2 separate regions of the Homo sapiens genome follow, and region 1 is linked to region 2. The links are contacts of gene promoters, found by promoter capture Hi-C in blood cells and fetal thymus (Javierre and others, 2016). All regions are on one chromosome and are shown on one strand. The core of a region is centred on a gene start or on the middle of the fragment in contact, and the rest is flanking DNA. Distances in the headings are between cores, read along the strand shown.

The links. Contacts are between HindIII fragments. The CHiCAGO score rates a contact against its expected background, and 5 or more counts as called.
Region 1: a contact is called between a fragment that was not itself captured here and the fragment with the promoter of ADAMTS16 in region 2, in 1 of 17 cell types (total B cells). The highest score is 10.8, in total B cells.

The regions. Positions count from the first base shown.
Region 1 is chr5:7,803,789-7,807,278 of GRCh38, reverse strand. It overlaps ADCY2 (adenylate cyclase 2), which reads right to left. Exons shown (of 25, transcript NM_020546.3): 22 at 2,587-2,694. Among named protein-coding and RNA genes, the nearest start is that of CFAP90, 46 kb to the left of the region's middle. The HindIII fragment of the contact is 7,785 bases long and covers 1-3,490 here.
Region 2 is chr5:5,139,004-5,142,359 of GRCh38, reverse strand. It overlaps ADAMTS16 (ADAM metallopeptidase with thrombospondin type 1 motif 16), which reads right to left and starts at 2,030. Exons shown (of 23, transcript NM_139056.4): 1 at 1,821-2,030; 2 at 1,594-1,696. The coding sequence starts at 1,892. It overlaps ADAMTS16-DT (ADAMTS16 divergent transcript), which reads left to right and starts at 2,306. Exons shown (of 4, transcript NR_109915.1): 1 at 2,306-2,404. It overlaps ADAMTS16-AS1 (ADAMTS16 antisense RNA 1), which reads left to right. Exons shown (of 2, transcript NR_198969.1): 2 at 1-222. RefSeq lists an enhancer at 2,258-2,824. The HindIII fragment of the contact is 3,896 bases long and covers 1-3,356 here.

The DNA.
Region 1 (3,490 bases), core at 100-2,599, 2.7 Mb before region 2:
CTGCGGAAAGGAAGAGAAAAGACCTGGAGACTTTTCTTGAACATCCAGAAGACTGGGTCTGATGGAGGCAGAGTTAGGGTCAGGAAGAACAGGCAGACACGCACCCTGGGCTGTAGAGTGACACTGATTGTGGAACAGGTCTTCATGTGGTGGTGCCTCGGAAGATCTCCCACTCCGAGGCCCTGCCAAAGTATTGTTAGTTGGCTGTCCAAGAGCAAAGGGCTGGAGTGGATGTGATCAGGTGAAGTGCTCCTGATGGCCCTCATTAGATGAGCTGGAGAAGCCTCCAAGTCATAACTGGATGAGGGTGAGGTAAGTGAGGCACTCACCTCAGGAGAGAAACTTCAGAAGGAGAAAGAAGCTCAGCAATCATGAGAAATAATATGCTAGTGCAATATTTTTAAAAATCAAAATCAATGCAGAAAAATTCAAGATGAACTAAAATAATGAAATTTTAAATAAAGATACTGCTGTGGACAGGATTGTGTCCTCCCTAAAATTTATATGTTGAAGTGCTAACCTCCCAGGTGACTGTACTGAAGACAGAGCTTTGTTAGGAGGTAATTATGGTCAACTAAGATGATAAGGGTGGAGCTCCGATCCAACGGAACTGGTGCCCTCTTTAAAGTGGAAGAGAAACCAGCTCTCTCTCTGTCTCTGTCTCTCTCTCTCTCTCCCCTCCATGGGAGGCCTAAGAGAAGTGAGAAGGCTGCTGTGTGCAAGACAGAAGAGGAGCCCTCAGCAGACACCTAATCAGCCAGCACCTCAGTCCTGAATTTCCCAGCCTTCAGAACTGTGAGAAATAAATTTCTGTCATTTAAGCCACCCAGCCTGTGGTATTCTGCCTGGCAGGCCAAGCAGACTAAGACACATAGGTCCTGACAGTGTTGTGCTGAGCATCTTAGAGCCTGAGGCAGTAAGAAAAATGCCTGTCTCTATACATGTCTTAATGTTATTTTTTTTTTAATGGTCAATGTTTTCCAGAACATTAAAGGCATTGGAGGAGCATATATTTGTTTCCATGAAAGCCAGGAAACTAAAATTGTAATTAGTTCTGGTTTGGGTTATAAATAGAATATTTAAAATTAAAAGAATGTTGTACATTTTAATATCTCGATTTTACATTTTTTCAATTTTTTTAACACTTTAATGTTCTGGAAAAAACCCTAACCATTAAAAATCTACAACACCATGCAGAGGATACAGCAGTTTTCCTTTGGCCACAGACTCCATGATGGCTTGAGAGGGTGTTGCTCAGAATTCAAAGGCAAGGTTCTTCTGGGGTTTCTTTTATGGCTTGTTTCTTTTATTTTCTTTATTACTGAAGTAATGCATACTCATTAAAAAATAATAATCTGAAGGCAACCACCTGAAGAGGAGAACCAATGGAATACATATCACTCCAATTAACTGGAAGAATGCTAGGGTTCCATCTTGAGTCAGACGTCTATCCATGTTCTACTCTTTGCCCATGAATGCATGAATGTTAAGCGGGAAACTAGGACCCTCTCATGATATTCCTGGAAGAGGGAGCTCTGTTATGGTGCCTGCTGCCTCTCTCCCCACTCTCACTCTTCCCATGGGAGGTGGTTATGGGAGAGGGGCTCATACATGGTACTCAACCCTTCTTCTCTTTGAGAACCTGCCTGTCCACAGAAAGTGTGTTCTGGTAAGTGCAGTTTCTCTGTGGTCTGCCCAGCAGAGGGCAGGCTCCACAGCAAAGGCCACTGTCCTGAGGGGAAAGGAGGTCTTTTTTACTAATATTCCAACAAGTTACACAAGCATGTCTACATACATGCTGTCTCTCTCTCTCTCTCTCTCACACACACACACACGAGAAAATCTCGAAAACCTTAGTTGATTGAAGATATTCAATTTTGCCCAAATGACCTTTTCAATGAAATTTCCATGTGGCCAACTTGTTTTTTGACCACATTATTTTATTTTAATTCATTTTTTAGATGCGGTGTCACTCTGTCACACGGGCTGGAGTGCAGTGGTGCGATCTCAGTTCACTGCAACCTCCACCTCCCAGGCTCAACCATCCTCCCATCTCAGCCTCTTGAGTAACAGGGACCACAAGTGCATGCTACCACACCTGGCTATTTTTTTTTTTTGTATTTTTGGTAAAGACGGGGTTTCACTATGTTGCCCAGGTTGGTCTCAAACTCCTGAGCTCAAGAGATCCACCCACCTCGGCCTCCCAAAGTGCTGGGATTACAGACGTGAGCCACCGCACACGGCCTTGACTATATTCTTTTAAATCAAAAGACCTGGATCCATTCTTACTGAGTCTCCTTCAAATAACTAGCTTTCATCTTCTACTTCATTGTGTATTTATCTGGTAACAAGCAGCTACTGATTGGTTTTTCTTCTCCTGTTGGCCAGCAGAAGGAGTTCTGTGAACAGATCCTCTGGCTCTAAGAAGTCTGGAATTTTCATCTTCTCTCATAGGACCTTGACCCTGAGCTTTAGGTTGTACAAAATATACAGTTCTTGGGGCATTTCATGGCTGTTTTGGTCCCAGGGTGGTTTGTGGATGGGGTTGAGGCTCACCTGTGCCGTTAAGTGGCCAACGCGTCTTACCTGGGAGTGCTCCTGGCTGGGCACAGCGCTCAGACCTGTTGCTGCCATGTATGTGCTGCCAATGGTCTTAATCTTTTCAACTCCACTGAATTTTGGCTTGGAAAGAAGCTGTGAAGCAATGACAACCGTCCAGTTACTCAGCTGGATGCTGACCTGAAGCTGAGCATTTTATAGAGACATTCTCAAATGCTGGTTCACAGTAATGCCGTGACTTGTTTCAACCACTGCGTATGCACCCTTGGGCCCTGGGCTTTTCCAGGAATGAAAACTTCTTGTATTTCATACAGCGCATGTCCTTGGAGGAAAGTACAGCATAATGATTTACTTCCAAGGAACACGAATTAGCGTTCAAACTTTGCTAGTGAAGGAACCAAGATGAATTATGATGCAAATGACGATGGGCTTGAATAAATTTCCTGACTATGTATTTGAAAGGCATAAATATAAAATTATGATTCAATGAGTGAGCTCTTTCTTGCATGGTCAGAATGATTTATGATCAATTATTAGTGCTGAGGACTGGCTTTTGCCCTCTGAGTGCTTGAGGTGGATGGAATAAAGATCTAGAATGGTTGTCATCAGCCCTAGCCTAATATATGTATTAGGAAGAGAAACCAGCTCTCTCTCTCTCTCTCTCTCTCTCTCTCTCTCTTTCCCCCCTCCATGGGAGGCCTAAGAGAAGTGAGAAGTCTGCTGTTTGCAGGACAGAAGAGGAGCCATACGATATACATGTGTGTGTGTGTGTATATATATACACACACACATATATATAAAAATATATATATATATATTCGAGACAGAGTCTTGCTCTGTCACCCTAGCTGGAGTGCAGTGGTGTGATCATAGCTCAGTGCAGCCTCCATCTTCCAGGCTCAAGTGAACCTCCTGCTTCAGACTCCCAAGA
Region 2 (3,356 bases), core at 781-3,280:
CCAGATAAGTGGTTGTCATGGAGACGATACGTTGTGACAACAACTGTGGTGCCAGGTGTTCAGAGCAGCACACTGGCACCCCACTCCCAGAGAGGATGCTGAAGCAGATTGAATCACTTTAGGAGAAAAGCACACTTAGGCACGAAGCCCTGGCTTTTCTTCTTCTTTCTTCTGTGTCTATAATGTGTTTTATCTTAAATAAAACTTCATAAATGCCATAAACTATTGTGGAAATCTCCTGAGTCCCTCTGGAATTTTCATGGTTTTAGGGAACTAGAATTTTTTTTTTTTTTTTTACAAAAATCTTACTTAAAAAGGTGAATTAGAATTAACCTTTAAAATTGTAAGAATTAACTTTTAGTATTGTAAGCAAAACCCTAAAAAGGACAAGGACAACCACAAGAGGATAGTCTGTAAATGGACAGATAATTAACTTTCTCTTGTAAATTCACTGTGACAATTTTTTTTAACATTTTATATCATTTGCACCTAGCGCCCCCTGGTGGTTCTCAAAAAGGTACTATGGTGAGCGTCAATCTGACACCGGTCACCTTATATACTATTTGTGTACTCATTTGGCAGGGAATAATTTCAAAAGTTAATGCATATATTAAGTGCTTGCCTTTATGTTATTTTATCAAATTGAAATAACTATACTGAGAAATTCTGAATTGTTAACTTTAATTTTCTAGATCTTCTGGAAATACATTGAGAGAATGAAACCTAGTTCTTCCTATAAAAGTCAATTAATATTAACATTTGATACGGCAATTTATTGTTGGTAACAATGCAAAATAATATTTATTAACTGTCATTGGATGGGTTCAGGTTAAAAAACCACCTAGCAACCAGTGCGACACACCTGCGTTCTCATTTACCTGATGCAGTATGAAGACACAGAGATCCCTTTCCATAAGACAGCAAATTTCCAAATGTCACTTGTAAGTGGCAGAAGTAAAAGCATGCATTGAAAAAGAATAAGACTTGCCCTCATGTCAAATTGTGGCCCAGGATATGAACGTTGCTGATGGTGTCACAATCAGCTGATTAGCCATTTCAGGCACTATTATGTTTGAAGTACGCCCTGATTGTTGGAGCATTAACTTTGGTATTGAGATGCTAAGCGCTTCTTTTATCTCCTTCACTGAGAATAAGCAACGATAGAGGAATATTTTAATCTATAAAGGAGGAGAAGGAGGAAAGGTTGGGGACGGGAAGGAGGATCCGAGGATGTAGAAGGGGACGGAAAAGAAAGTAATTTGCTCTTTATGACGGCTTTGATGCATACATTAATAGCTTTAGATTCTTCCTAAGCTCTTTAGAATAAAATAAAATGAACTTCCTCACCTTTTTCCTAATGTTATATCAATAACTCTGGCAAACCGTTTTGCCAGGGAATAAAATGTAAATATTGGTGGAAATCCACTCATCGGGGCTCGCTCATACAGTTAAAAAAAAAAAAAGTTCACAACAGCATCTTAAAAGTAGGGTTCCACAGAGTCGTGAACATTCACAGCACCTAATAAACCAGCGGCACGGAGATTACGAGCTGCTAAATGGCAAGGATTAGAAGCCCCCACCTCACGGACTTACCGCCCTTTTCCATCCAGCCCGGCCGCTCCGCGGGTGGAGGAGGACGCGGGACGCTCGGGCTCCCAGGCGCTGCCGCTGCGGGTCCCATGGCGCACGCAGGTGCCTGCGGAAAACAGCGGCGACATCGCGGTGAGACGGCGGGGTCCGCGGGAGAGGAGCCGCGGGGGACTCGCCTCCAGCTGTCCGGACCCGCGGTTTCCGCGCTGGTGGGAGCGCCCGGGACTCACCTGCTCGGCCACCTGCGCCAACAGCATCCACAGCGCCGCCAAGCCCCGCCATCCGCGCGCGCGGGGCTTCATCCAGGAGCGCTCCGAGGGGCTAGGGGCCACCGGAGGGTCCCCGGCCGGCAGCGTGCGAGCGGGCAGGGAGGACCCGACCCAGGCAGAGCGCGGGAGGATTCCCCACAGCGACTCCGCCGCCGCGCCGGGGTTATTACTGAAGCTCCGTGCGGCGCGGGGGGCGGAGTGGCAGCCGCGGCGGCGGGGGCGGCGGGAGCGGTGGGAGAGCGCGGGGCGGGCAGGGGAGAGAGGAGGGGAGGAGGTGAGGGCGGGGGGGTCAGAGGACCGAGGAGGGGAGAGTGCAGGGACAAAGAGCAGAGGGGAGGAGGCGAGGTCAGCGGGGCGCTGAGGCGGAGGCGAGCGGGGAGCAGAGGGAAGGCGGGAGACAGCGGGCAGCGCCAGAGGAGGAGGACGCGGGAAGATGGAGCTGCCCACGGCCTGCAGTCCGTGCCTCTCTGCCCGCGCGGGGACCACACAGTTGGAGAGGCTGCCGGGCACCGGCGCGGGCGATGCTCAGCATGGACCTCCGGCCGGTGCGCGCTCCTGCCCTGCCTTGGGGCTGGGGACTCGGCGGGACTCCAGCTACTGCAGTGGCTCCGCGGGCTCCCACCTCCGGGCCGCACCGGCGCCGCCAGAGGCCGGGACACCTGCAGCCCGCGGAGTGCGGTCTGGCCGCGCCTCTGTGCCCGGGCACAGCTGTGGGGACACTGGGTGCGGAAAACCGGGCGCCAGGACGTGGGAGAGCCGCGGACCTGCCTTTAAAGGCGCGTGCCTCGCTCTGGAGTTTGCGGAGCGATCGGAGACGGGGAGGCTGAGGAGGAAACTCTTCCCCCGCGCCATTTGCCCCGAGATGTGGCGGCGCTCCTGGCCCCGCGGTCACGGCCACCCTCAACTGGCCAGGCCGCGGAGGCCGGTGACTGGCTGCTGGGTGCAATCCCTAGGGAGGTCTCAGGGCTGCGGATGGGCCTGGGTCTCGGCCGCCACGGGGGTCGATCGGGCTACTGTGTGGACAGGGTGGCCAAGGAGGCAGCAGGTGTGCGGTCAACAGCCTGGCCAGAATTCTGCTGTAGCTGGATGGGGTGTGTGAGCGCGCGGGTGTACATGTGCCTGGGTGTGCGCGGGTGTACATCCACACCTGACTGCGTGTGCGCGAGTACACGCTGTGAGCCCATAGTGTGTCTGGAATTGGTGGGTTCTTGGTCTCACTGACTTCAAGAATGAAGCCGCATACCCTCGCGGTGAGTGGGTACAGCTCTTAAGGTGGTGCGTCTGGAGTTTGTTACTTCTGATGTTCAGATGTGTTCGGAGTTTCTTCCTTCTGGTGGGTTCGTGGTCTCGCTGGCTCAGGATTGAAGCTGCAGACCTAGGCGGTGAGTGTTACAGCTCTTAAGGCAGAGCCTCTGGAGTTGTTCGTTCTTCCCGGTGGGCTCGTGGTCTCGCTGGGCTCAGGAGTGAAGCTGCAGATCTTCACGGTGAGTGTTACAG